Linked DNA regions of Homo sapiens: region 2 is linked to region 1. The links are contacts of gene promoters, found by promoter capture Hi-C in blood cells and fetal thymus (Javierre and others, 2016). All regions are on one chromosome and are shown on one strand. Each heading gives the region's core, a stretch centred on a gene start or on the middle of the fragment in contact. The rest is flanking DNA. Distances are from core to core; before and after follow the strand shown. Region 1 holds the start of GUCY1A2 (guanylate cyclase 1 soluble subunit alpha 2). Region 2 overlaps GUCY1A2 (guanylate cyclase 1 soluble subunit alpha 2).

Region 1 (6,908 bases), core at 2,699-5,198:
TTTTTTTCAATTTCACCAATACAACTTACTCTTATTAAATAGTATTAGAAATTATTATAACCTTTATACTCAACATCGGTGCATCTTAAAGTGACTATTAAGCATCAAAAACCTGAGTGTGGATATCCCATGGGTCAAATAACTAGTTTAATAAATAAATTTTCATTTTTCTATTTGCAAATCATTCTGAATAAAGAAGAAATCCCAAGTGACTGAGACATGCCACGATGAGACAACTGACAAAACAGGAGCTTCCATGGCAAGTACAGTTTCTCCTGAAGTATATTGTGATGGCATGCAAGAAAGCTCACAACATTCAAAACAACTAGAAATTCCCATCTAAAAAGGCTCTGGTAATGGCTACTCTCAGTGGTTCAAAAACAAAAAAATGTCCAGCTTTCATGAGAGAATAGAGAGGACATAATCCATCTCCTGAAGAGTATTCAAAGAAGTTTCAAATCCTGACAATGTCAAAAAATGAATCTACTGGAACTTTTTGAGCTAGTGTTCTAACTTGCCAAATAAAATAAGGTAAGGACTGCCCAGAAATGAGTCACTGCTTTGAAATATAATCTCTCTCTTTTATTTGTGTCACTAAGTCTATTGATGATATGGTTAACCAAGGAGAATTTTTCTATACATGTGTTATGTTGAAAATGTTTACAGTATATTCACCTGTATGTTCTCAGCGTCCACCTGACAGACCCTTTTCATAATAGAAAACAACTATGGCATGGAAAGTATATAGAGCTGTTGCATTTATTTGATCATCACAATTATTTTTAAATTGCTTATTCTGAAAACCATTCTCTGGATACATTCTTTTCATCCAGCAAAAAGCCAGTCATTCAAATTTAACTTATAAAAGTAACCATCAGAGACTATTTCCTTCCTCTTATTCTAGCAGAAAATACTGCATTTCTCAGTTTCTTTTATCTACTCCTCATGTAAGTTGTTGAAAATAGTCTTAGCTTAAATTAGCATTATCAGAGGCATTGACATTACTTTTTAGAAATCTGTAAATTCTCTTAGGCAAAAAAAAAAAAAAAAAAAAAAAAAAAAAAAAAAAAACCTCCAAGGTTATATCAACAATTCTCCCCAAACTAATCATTATCTTTAGCAAAATCATTTCATTAAATAAGAATCTGTTGTACTAAATAACTATTTTATTGCACAAATGTTGCTTTAAGTACTGACACAAGCCTACAGACGCTCGGGGTCATTGGACTCCTGTTGTAAATAAATATTTTCAACAATTTGCAACATCAAATAGTTTATAAAATTACGCTGCCTGGGAAATATTGGCAGGGAAGAACAGCAAAGAGTAGCCAATCTATTCTGAGGATTGTTTTCTAGGTTAATGATGAAAGAAAAAGTGGCAGAAAGATATATCAAATACGAAAATACACAAGAATAGGAAGATGACTGTTTCTCAATATGTGTTCCTAAGAATTAAATTAGTTCAAAATAAATAATGTAATAAGTGATTTATACATCTTCAATCAGGTCTCGTAAAAGAAAAAAATCATTCTCCATTAATACAAGTGCCACAAGAATATTTGTAGACCTGTCTGGTACCCGTACTCAGTCCCCTCAGGGTTCCACTCCTTCTTAGGTCCCCCCTACCATCATTTGCAGTAGTAATCTCAAAAGAGAGACTCAACAGTAATCAAACAAGATCAGTGTTCAGATTCATTTCGGAAACTTTAAAAAAGTAAAAGTCCTAGGGGTGGGCAGGTGAAAGTGCTGTCAGGAGGAGCTAAAGCTCTTGTATCCAAGGTCAGGGTGAGCATAAAAGATGGGTGGAGGTTTGACGCTGAATCTTTTTCAAATTCTGTCTGCAACAGAGTGGATTTCTTTAAAACAGAGCTCTCCCAGACACGGTAAGATTGGATCAGAGGTCTGGCATTCCTGCAAGAGGTAAAAGCCAAGGGTAGCTGAAATGCCTGGGCAGGAATAAGGCAGTACTCCTCTGGAAGGATGCCTACAACCAGGGGGAGTTTGTTGTACACCTGAAACTGCTGATACAGACATCCCAAGATGACCACAAGTTTGGAGAGGCATTTATTCATTCCACAAATATTTAGGAAGGGCCTAATATAAAGAAGCCACCAAAAAATGAGAGAGAAAGCACTAGAGAATCAATTGAAGAGAGAGTAAAGGATGAGGTGCAGGTGCAAGAAGTACAGAGCGGTTTAAATAGCTAATGTGAGAGAGAAAGCACTAGAGAATCCATTGAGGAGAGAGTAAAGGATGAGGTACAGGTGCAAGAAGTACAGAGAGGTTTAAATAGCTAATGTGAGAGAGAAAGCACTAGAGAATCCATTGAGGAGAGAGTAAAGGATGAGGTACAGGTGCAAGAAGTACAGAGCGGTTTAAATAGCTAATGCATGCGAAGCTTAATACCTAGGTGATGAGTTAGTAGGTGCAGCAAACCACCATGGCACACGTTTGGTACCTATGTAACAAATCTGCACATCCTGCACATGTAACCCGGGACTTTAAATTAAATTTAATTTAAAAAAAAAGAAATCCAGACACCAGGTTTACCCAGAGAAGAATAAATGCCTAGTGGATAAGAAAGAAAAAGAAAAAAAGCTACGGGGTGAGGACAACTCGAGATTAGAGATTACTTGAACAGAAGGCAACTCAGAAAAGTATCTGGCAAAAAGTATCTGAAGATGTGAGAAAAAGGATGCAACATAGAATGCAGATAGCCTGTGGAATTCAAAGATGTCAGAGAAGGTCACGCTAAGACCAAGAGAGTGTGGGAAATAAGGAGAGGAAGGGTTTCCTGGAAGGGGTTGGGGCTCCTTTGGGATGCTGGAGAACAGGATGAAAGACAGGGAAGCTGAACTGCAGAACACAGTGCCTGGGAAAGTTTAGGGGAAAGAAAACAGGTGGGTGTGAAGCAGCACTGGGGCTGTCCAGGGGGAACAGTGGTGAAGTAGGGTTCAAGGCTAGAGGTGGGCAGACAGGCCCCCGAATCAGGATACCCCAAAGGAGTGGAATCTTATTCCTTCCCAGTGCTGTAGTCCCCTCTTCCGCCCTAGCCTAGGGGATCCTCTGTCGCCGGAGCCACTGGAACCCTAGGCCGTGCAGGGTAAGGCCGGGCCGCCCCCCAGCGGTCGGGCTCTGCGCTCGCGCCCCGGCTCGCCCAGCGCCAACTTTACAGATCCGCGTTCTCTCCCCCGAAGGCGGTCCCCCCTTCCGCCCCCCGCTCACCGAGGGCGCCGTCAGGCGGCTGATGCTCTCGCCCAGCGAGTCCAGGTTGACCCGCCTCCGGCGCTGCACCCTCCTGGCCCCGGCAGTGGCAGCGGCGGCGGCGGCAGAAGCAGCCGGGGTCGGGGCCGGGGCGGCGGCAGCGGCAGCTGCGGCCGGGCTGGGCTCCAGCGGCCCGGGCGGGCTCCGGCTGCCATTCCAGCAGAGCCTAGACAGGGGGCACTCCCCCTCCTCCTCCGGGCTGGTCTCCAGGTAGTCGGAGCCCAGGGAGCTGAAGGACTCGGACGAAATCTTCCTTCGAGACATGCTGCCGGCGGAGCTGCAGCGGCCGAGGCGGTGGCGGCGAGGACGCGAGCGGCGGCGGAGGCGGCGGTGGCGGGACCGGCAAGCGACAACGTTAAGCGCGTCGGGGCCGCGGGGCGCTGCGGTCGCGCCCGGCGGGGCGGGAGTCCCCGGGGCCGCGGAGCCCCCCGAGCCGGCTGCTCATGGCGGGAACTTGGGGCGCCGCCGCACCTTGGGGCCCGGGCTCGGCGGCGGCGCCGGGCTGGGCTGGGGGCCGCCGCCGCCTCTGCTGCTGCTCGCGCGGCGCCGCCTCAGCGCCCGCCTCGGCGCATCGCCGTGCGCCGCGCTCCCGCTCACGGGGAGGCTCCGAGAGTGTGTGACCGCGGTCGGCGGGGCGGGGAGGGCTGCGGCCCAAGCAGAAGGGGAGGCAGAGGCAGAGGCTTCTGCCGCCTGCGCGCCTATCTCGCCCCCTTTCCCTCTCTGCTCCCGCCTCTCTCCACTTGCTGCCCTGCCTCCCTCCTTCTCCCTTTATCCCCCCGCCCCCCCCCATGCTCTCCCTCCGCGGGAATCACGTGTCGCCATCATACTCATTGGGAGTCTCTGCCTCGCCTGTCGCCACGTTTCAGGAGCAACGAGGACACTTCGTTGCTGTCCTCTGCGCGCCCTCCCTGCTCCGAGGAGGTGCGCACAGGAGCTCGGGTCGGACTGAGGGCCCCAACCCCAAACGCCTTATCCTCGGCCCTCGGGAGCAGATGGGTCCCGGCGGCGCTGGTGGGGAGAAGGGCTCGGGGCTGGGGGGCGAGAGGCCTCCCCCTGGAGCCACCTTGGGGAAACCTGACAGTGTGAAGTGGGGGTTAGGGTCCATGTTGTCCTTTCTCCGAGTTTATTTAGGAAGTTCCGAGGCAAAAGGGAAAGGCCAAGCGTCCAGCCAGCCCACTCCAGAGGAGACGCTTTCAGGGGAAGGGAAGGACAGGGGCAACATTTTGGCGCCCATCCTGCTGGAGCAGCTCCTGGGGACTTGTGTTCCCCGCCTCGTGCGAGGCCGTGTGGGCGCGGAGCGAGCCCAGAAAGGGGCGGCAGTGAGGACAGCGTCTGCTCTGACAAGACAGCACTGTTGCTGAGCCTCAGCCGGGCGGGGTGCGCGGGGCTCCCGGCTCCGCTGGCTCCTCACTAGTGCTGGACAGCTCCGCTTGCCACCTATAGCCGCCTTTGCAGGCGTTGAGAACTGGAGAACAGTTCCTCCTCAAACGACCTAGCACCTGGCCCGGGGGAAACCGGGGAATGATCCCACGTCCCTCATCCTCAGGGCTCTTTGCGCCAAATATGCGATCTGTTTGCACCTGACTGCAAATGCTGCTCAGAAAGCTAAGGGGAGTAGGGATAAATGCTTCTCGAACTGACTCGCCACAGCGCGAGCATGTCTTGCCGCGAGTTTTCAGCTGTGCGGCTTCATTCCAAAGCTTATCTCTTTGCAAACCAGTCCTTCCAGCGCCTGACCCCACTGCCCCTTGCCTTAGCCCCAGAAAACTCTCATACTGGTTCTGAGGATAGAGTAAGAGATGGGAAGAAGGGGCAAATGACAGTATCCCGAAAGGGGTTCCAGGCTGTACTTCCCCCTGCAATGAAGTGGATGAGCACCCTCCCCAGCTCACCCGATCTGCGGAGAGAAAAGTTTAGGGGCTCTGGCTTTAGTTTCCCAGTGAAACCGAAGCCAAAGCGTTTTTTTAATTAAAGAACTGGTCCTTCCAGGTGAAGGCAGATGGGTTTTTGTGGACTGTGTTTATTTAAAAAGCAAAACAAAACCAAACCACAAAACCTGTGCTGTACCCCCACCACAATTTGCTTTTAACTTCAAATCTTCCCAAGTGTTTGTTAGGGCTTAAATATAAATGCTATTTGAGGTTTCATTTGGAAAAATCCACTCAAACTGGTTCAGAGACATACCTTTTTCCCCAGATCTTAAATGGGCTTTAAAGATAGAAAAGTGTGTACTATCACTCAGACACTCCCCCTTCAAATTATATATATATATATATATATATATATATGTGTGTGTATATATATGTATATGTATATACATATACATATGAGAAAGAATATATATAATATATATTCTTATATATATGTATTCTTTCTCATCCTGAGGAAGTTTCTTTTAAAATAATAATTGTTACAATTATTATTTAAACTGTTGTGCATCTACTATTGATTTCCCCATTACTTCAATTAATTCTATGTGCATTTGTGTCCATTGAAAATTAGACTCAAATTACACTTTTAATCATAAAAAATCATCAGTTTTGCTAAAAAAGTTTCACTAGCCCCTTTTTCTAAATTATAATGAAAATTACATTATTCTAACTTTGGGGTAATTGTTTAATATTTCTGCTACACAGTATCAATCAGCATAAAGGATTGGAGTTCCTAGTTCTCTTCTTTGGTACTGATTATATAATAGTCAAGTTCTTTCGAATTATAGGATTTTAGTTAGTATTAAATATACTAAATAGCATGTGTCCTTCACATTCTTTCAATAAACTGCTGCGCACACAAATAAATATTATGGTAACGGCAAATAAACTTCATATTGAACTTAGAATTGGAACTTTTTATTAACCATTCCAACTCTTGTCTCAAAGTCAAAATTATTGAGTGCAAGGCAATGAGTATCATTTGTTTCTAAAATTTGTAAGAGGCCCAAGAGCCTTCCTGTTTACACTGGAAGTTTATTGCCAGAAAGAACTCTGAACCTATGGGACATTTTTTCTTTGTGTGAACCATTTGAATCAAAGACTCTTTACAGAATCTAGCCAGATGAAGTCGTCTTACAATTTTCTCTATGAATTACACCCTGCCTTTGATCATTATTTTCCCATGGATTTTTAAACTATAAACAAATCAAGGCCTAGATATAGCCAGTACAACATCTGCTTTGCTTTCAAGGGTTTCCTTTGTATTTCTGTTCAGGAGCGGGGTTCAAAAGCTCTCAATATGAAGAGTGCTGTGTTTATACTAGAATTGACATTTTTAAAATGAAGCATAGCTATTCTCCATTAAAAAAAAAGAAGAAGAAGAAGGCTTACAGTTAGCAAAAGCAATCTAAATACTTTAGGAAGAGTAGTCTGCTGAGAATGAATAGTCTGTGCTCTGATTTTAGGAAAAGAAGCTTGCCCAAGCTCATACCCACAAATCCAGCCCTGCTGGATATATTGTATTTCAATAAAGTATTTAAAGGCCACTCTCCAACTGGAAAAGAAAAATGCAGAAATATTCTTGGTTTATTTGTGAAGTTGGCGTAGGCACCTGACAACTCAGATTGATCAAGCATTGGGAAAGACTTCCTAAAAAAACAGATTCTTCACTTTAGTCAAGACGATGACTATTTTACATTGAAACATAAAGTA
Region 2 (6,908 bases), core at 2,481-4,980, 300 kb before region 1:
ACATTCGAAAAGATCTAAGTTCCTTTCCCCCACTTCCTGATAGCCATTATATTTCTCATGGTGTCAAGGACAATGACACACACCCATTTATAATTAAGTAAATAGATTTATTCTGGAATGTGCAAGTCAAACTGAAACCATGAGTAACATTATGAGCTAGCAAGTTAATACATTCAAATTTGTATTGAAACAGTCTTATTTGTGCAAGAAAAATGTCCAAATTCAAATAGGTCTATAATAGAAAAAGAAGAAAGTCTTTTAGTAGAAAAAGCCCGTAAGCTCTTCACTCATGTTTGCATTTAAGTGTTGCTTTTAGATTTATGTGATTAAGATTTTAGACTTTGGAAAAGTCTTTAACTGCTTTAACAGAAAGGAGCTTAAAATCATTGTGCACATTGTGAGGTAAGGGTGAAACAAATATTTAATCCTTTCACCAGAATTAGTTAAAATGTATCATAAAGTTTTATTAAATACTCCTTTAATAAAATTAGGTAAGTAAAATTTCTTTTTACATTTTTGTCTCATTCTTTTCTTAATAATCAATATTTTTCTGACAAGAAAGTCCATTATTTTAAATTCAAATTTTGAAAGCTCAAGATTCTTAGGAAGAAAACAATCAGCTCACTCTAGCAGCTTTTACAATTTTTGCTTATTTCCCAGATGTGCAAGGAAACAGGGTGAAATAATTTCTGTGGCTATGTGGCATTTTTCTTTTTATCAGAGGACTCAGCCTCCAGTCTGATGGTGTCAGAATGTCACATCAAGTAATACACTAAGACAAACAGCACTTTGGGCAAAATATCTTACTGTATTTACTGTCAACATTACAGAAGCACCATTCATAGATAAATTTAACTTTACAGAAAGTATTTGACCAAATAATTATTCTCATCACTGGTAATTTCAGACCATATAATATGAGCTATTATCACTTGTATAAAATAAAACACGGTAAAATTTTAAATAATTAATATTTTACAGTTGGGGAAGAAAGTGGGTTTGTAATCTTGTTTACATTTTCTGATGAGGAAGGATAAAACCCTACAAACCACTGATTAGGAGGGCATGTCTAGAATCATATAGCTGATGGCACTGAATAAAATGTCAGATATTGCTGTGGGGATATAGCAATATGGCTCAAATTCACCACCACTTTCTCACAGGGCACTCATTAATGTGTATGTTTTTATTTAAATATATTTAATACCTGATAAGATATTTAAATTTGACTCAGTCTGTAGGAGTGTTATTATTAAGGCCTATAAGCTGAATCTGAAATTTACCTCTGTGCAAAAAAAGTCTTAAAAATCTTTTCAAAGTAAGAAACTGATTTAAATCAACTGAGATACTTAGATTGAATATGCATGTACTTAGAAATAACCAGCATATAACTTAGCGGTTGAAAAAAAAGATCATTTTGTGTTAGAAATGTAGACAGCTGACATATTTAACAACATAGTGACATACTTGAAGCACACACAAACTGACCACTATAATGAAGAGTAATAGCAGAATTCAAGGATGAAAAACATATTTAAGGAATTCAAGAAAACAATTGTGACTTTTTTCTATAATTTGATTTTGATTCTCATATGTAGAAAAGAATTGGAAACCTTTCTCTGACATCCAGTCTTTGGCTATCTAACCAATGGCACTAAGGATACACTTATTCTACTAATCACATTTATAGCATTAATCAAATCATTCTGTGATATTTTAGTTAGTAATAAAGACGTCTATATTGTATAATTGCCCAGATTGAAATCTACCTTGTATTAATATCCTTGTTAGTGGCTTCATTTTTAATAAAGTCTGTTAATTGCTAAAACTTCAAAGCTCTTAGAAGTTTCTATCTTGAGACTACCACTGGAAAATATTCCTACTTACTTATCAATTCACTCAGTTAATAAGGAAAATCATTTTCTGTCAAAATGCAGCTCTTAACAGATAATCCGGAATAAAATTTCTAGGAAGAAAAAAATTTCATAGAAGCACAAATTAAAAAATGATTTAAAAAACTTTAAATATGTAGAAATAAAATCCTTTGAAAATAGATAAAAGGATTTAGGAAAGGAGTCTCATAGTATTACATGTGTGTTTATCAGTTATTAATTCATTCATCTAAATTACTCAGAGAAAAAACAATGCATTTGACAGAAGTATAAGAAAAAAAGGAATTTTAATAATGAGTTTGATTGTTAAACATAATAATGCTTATCATCTTTCGTAAGCCATACCTTCTTTTAAAAATAAGAATAAATAGCATAGCTAAGTTTATGCTGCAGAATAAAAGTACAGGAACAATATTAAACCCCTGAGTTACAATGTAGAACTCTTGGCTACACACTGGAATCAACTGGGGAGCTTTAAAATTGCTGTTTTGAATTTGATTACTGGAGAGTAAGATTTAGCTGGTTTGGAATGAAGATTGGGTATTGGGATTTTTAACCCTCCCTAGGGTTTCTAATATGCATCCAAGGTTGAAATCTATGAGTGTACAAAAATCACTTAATGTTTTACAGATATATTCACAAATAATCAATACTGCAGGATCCAAGTAATTTATATACCTCTACTGTTTGCCCAGGAAATCATTTTCGCCAGCATTCTATAAATTCCTTCACATCCATATACACATATATACTACTTCTTCAATTAGGAAACACAATATTCCATTTTGCTCCCAGGACACTGAAGTTATCAAAAAAATATTCCTTTATATCTCCTGATGGCTTTTAAAGGCCACAAAAATATATGTTTAATTAAAATATTAGCAACTAGGACAGAACTGTGAACCCTCCTCAGACTTAATGCATTCCAGTTAGTGTAAGACAGAAGTTTCCTTGAGACCTCAGCACATCTGTTTTCGTGGCAAACACAAAACAGTTTGGGTGGCAACCCAGGCTCATTTATAGAGTATTTTATATAAACTTTTTATATAAAATAAAAAGTGCTTGTGAGGGGCAATGGGACTCCAAAGGCAAACGACTTTGTCTTGGGCGTTGGTCATTCCAGAAGCCCTTGCAGCAGCATGGTGCTGGGGTGGAGGGCATTTTAAGCTTATGCATGCCAAAAGATGTGTTAGCTTTTTGGAAGGTGTCATAGGCTTTGGAATCTGACCCATCATTTATTTATTATATTATATTGGCAATCTTGGCAAGTTAAACATTTTGATAATCCTCTTTCTTAACCCTTTTTTTTCATTATTAGAGATGAACGATGCATAATGATAATGTATGTTTATACAAACCCCTATAAAACTGATTAAATAGTCATGCAGTGTTATCAAGGGAACAGAACAAGGGAAAGTGTTTTCTGAAAAGTTAAATTGTTTTAAGATTTTGAAAAATAACAGAAAGCTAAAATAAAATTCAAAGACATACAATATCAAATGTAAATCAAACTGTCATAACTAAGCCTAAGGAGGTATGATTACCAAATGTAATGTGGTGTCCTAGATGGGACCTTGAAACATAAAAGAACATTAGGGGAAAATTAAGAAAATATGAATAAATTGTAGACTTTAGCTAATAATAATGTATTGATACTGGTTTGTTAATTGTAACAATTGTACCATATTAGTTCTGGGTGAAACTGGGTGTGGGATACTTGGGTATTCTATGGACTATCTTTGCAAATTATTCTGAAAAACGAAAAACATTCTAAAATCAAAAATTTATTTAAAAATGTAAGTCATATGCTTCTCCACCAATAAAAAGGACATATTTGCAAATTTTTTTTTTTTTTTGAGACAGAGTCTCTGTCACCCAGGCTGGAGTGCAGTGGTGCCATCTTGGCTCACCGCAGCCTCCACCTCCCAGGTTCAAGCAATTCTCCTGCCTCAATCTACCGAGTAGCTGGGACTACAGGCGTGCGCCACCATGCCCGGCTAATTTTTGTATCTTTAGTAGAGACGGGGTTTTGCCATGTTTCCCAGGCTACTCTCAAACTCGCGGCCTCAGGTGATCTGCCTGCCTCGGCCTCCCAAAGTGCTGGGATTACAGGAGTGAGCCACCGCGCCTGGCCAACAAAATGTTTCTTATTGTTAAAAATGTTTCTTATCTTCAAATTCAGACAGTAAGGGACTGTTATGTGAAATAAAATAATTGAAAATGATAATATCAAAAAATAATTAACAAGTGTTAGAAATGAGTCAACCAACCGATAACAAAGTTAATTCCTTTGTACATACACCCCATACTCTAATCTTCTGTGTATTAATGTTGTTACCAACATTTATTCTGTTTGGGCATTAGATGGCGCTCATGTTCATTTTACTGAGCAGGTTGGTTCTTTAACGTCAGCAGTAGGTCTCTCAACTGGAGAAGTGTCTTTAAGATTTGACCCAATATTACTTTTAGGGGTTAATTATGAAAACGAAATCAACCTTATAATAAGGATAAAAGCTTTGGATTGGATGGCAAAATTCAAACAATGAACAAAACTGTAATTAAGAAATTGCTAAGCAAAATTCATAAGTCCCAAGGAATCCAATGGTGGGCTTCAAGGCATCCTCCTCAGCCCCACTGAAGTTATGAGCACAGATATGCCTATGTTGCACCCATAGTACCTATCACCTTTTCAAAGAAGTTCACAGATTTCTCAAATTTTGAGAACCATTACCTTAAGTTTCTTTTCAGTGCCAAATCATTGCTGCATCATCAACACCCACTAGTGGATTTTGTATTGAGTAGGCAATCTTTAAATGTTTGTTGATTGACTGAATAAGTGAATTAATAAGCAGAAGAATAAATGAAAATGAAAGGAAATGCTATGCCAGGCACAAATGTTCCTCTTTCCCTCTTCTAAATACTTGCAGCATGATATTTTTGACACCAAAGGGACTGGATGCTCATTCATCTTTGTATTCCTCAAGATTTGCAAACAAAGAATGAGAAGCACCATTTAAACAAGAAATCTTGAATCAATGCTTTATTCCTAGTCCTACTTCTGCTTGTCAGATTATTCCAATAACTGATAAAGTAATCTCAGACTAGACTTTCTAAAATTGTATGTTGAGATCCTCCCAAATTTAGCTATTTTTAAAAAACTAGTTAATGGCTGCAAAAAGAAAAAAAAATCTTGGTAGTGGGGTCTAAAATCACTACTGAAAATTCAAGATTTTTCTTTTAGTGTTTCAGTACAGCTGTGATGTTTTTATTTATTTTGATAGTGCCCTTAGTACAAAATAAAAGAATAATAGAACCATGAACCAGTAAATCTATGGACTAGAATATGTCACTTGATTTAACTGGGACTCTTCTTTTAACCTGGGCTTTGAGAAGAAAGCTCTGAAGTTTGAAATAAAAGGCTTGGTAGTATTTATTTACGATTAGCCAGTCATCGATCCCATTCAAGCAAACAAAAGAAAAAAAAATAGGAAATTTTCTTTTTCAGAAAGAGCACCTGCTAAATGAAGAACTTATACAAAATAGTCATCAAAGACCAGTTCTGTGTGTGTGTGTGTGTGTGTGTGTGTGTGTGTGTTGCACACAATGTCAATTTTAAGGAATCCCTTTGCATATAGAACCAGAATGGTTAGCACTGGTTTGTTTTGTTTTGACCCCATTCCCCCAGACATGTGAAATTCAGAATAAGAAATATGTAGTTTTAACCAAAGCAATATCTTCAATAGCAAATGAATTTATCACTATTATTTATATGTTTATATATGTGTAATTTTATAGGACTATTAAAATAGTTATTTTGATATATTTTATTATGATACAAAGTCAACTGCATATCTTAAAACACAGCAAGCTGTTTGTCTCCCCGATCCTTTATGATTGTTTCCTCTGACTGTGCCCCAACACTTCTCTTGAGAAATTCTCATCACCACAGAGGCCCAGCTTAGCCATCATCCCTGCTCCATGTCTGCGTATAAGTTGTTTCCTCTGGTTTTCTCAACCCTTCATCTAGCTGGATAGTTTCTCACTTTTCAGACCACAGCTTAGAAGTCACTTACTTTGGGAAGCCTTTCATCAGGAACTTAGGAATCCCTGGTATGAACTGTATTCACGATTCTTCTCTCCTAACATTTCCTACACTTTATTTTGACTGTTTTGTTTTGTTTTCATTACCTGTCTCCTTTGCTTAGTACTGACTTCTGGGAAAACAAAGATATAACAACATTTTTCTCACTGTAATATTCCAAGCACCCACCAGAACCTTCCTGGTACACAGCAGTGACTCAATATTTAAGTAAAAAATGGCCAGGCTCAGTGGCTCACGCCTGTAATCCCATCACTTTGGGAGGCCAAGGAGGACAGATCACCTGAGGCTGAGTTCGAGACCAGCCTGGCCAACATGGCAAAGCCCTGTCTCTATTAAAAGTACAAAAATTAGCTGGGCATGGTGGCGCATGCCTGTAGTCCCAGCTACTTTGGAGGCTGAGGCAGGAGAATCACTTGAATCCAGGAGGCGGAGGAAGCAGTGAGTCAAGATCATGCTACTGCACTTCCAGCCTGGGCAACAAGAGCGAAACTCCATCTCAAAAAAAAAAAGTAAAAATATGAATTTAAACCACTTCTTAAAACATCTTTGAACATAAATTAATATGCTTTTTGAATTAGATATTTGAAATGTATTGTTTTCTTCAACTGTTTCACCTCGTAAAGGGAGTTTCTTAAAAAATGAATTTAAGTAAATAATAATTTGACAGAAACTTGCTTAAGGTATTCCTCCATTCCCGTTCAGTTTACTTTTTCTACCAAGTTAAAAACAACCATATGAATAAACAGAACAAGCTAACTTGGGTCAAGTGAGTGTATCCAAGCCATGGCACCTGCCTTGTGGAATTATCTAAGGGTGGCCTGAGCCCTTTCAGAGATGTACACCAGGAACCAGTAACACAGCAAAAGGCCAGGACAGCTACTGTGGGCCTCAGCCCTGCAAGCAGTCTAAGGGCA

Evidence for each region. Contacts are between HindIII fragments. The CHiCAGO score rates a contact against its expected background, and 5 or more counts as called.
Region 2: a contact is called between a fragment that was not itself captured here and the fragment with the promoter of GUCY1A2 in region 1, in 1 of 17 cell types (endothelial precursors). The highest score is 5.7, in endothelial precursors.

The regions. Positions count from the first base shown.
Region 1 is chr11:107,014,528-107,021,435 of GRCh38, forward strand. GUCY1A2 (guanylate cyclase 1 soluble subunit alpha 2) reads right to left here and starts at 3,949. Exons shown (of 8, transcript NM_000855.3): 1 at 3,226-3,949. The coding sequence starts at 3,528. RefSeq lists a silencer at 3,343-3,472. The HindIII fragment of the contact is 2,566 bases long and covers 2,397-4,962 here.
Region 2 is chr11:106,717,333-106,724,240 of GRCh38, forward strand. All of the region lies in intron 6 of GUCY1A2 (guanylate cyclase 1 soluble subunit alpha 2), which reads right to left. Among named protein-coding and RNA genes, the nearest start is that of GUCY1A2, 300 kb to the right of the region's middle. The HindIII fragment of the contact is 1,347 bases long and covers 3,058-4,404 here.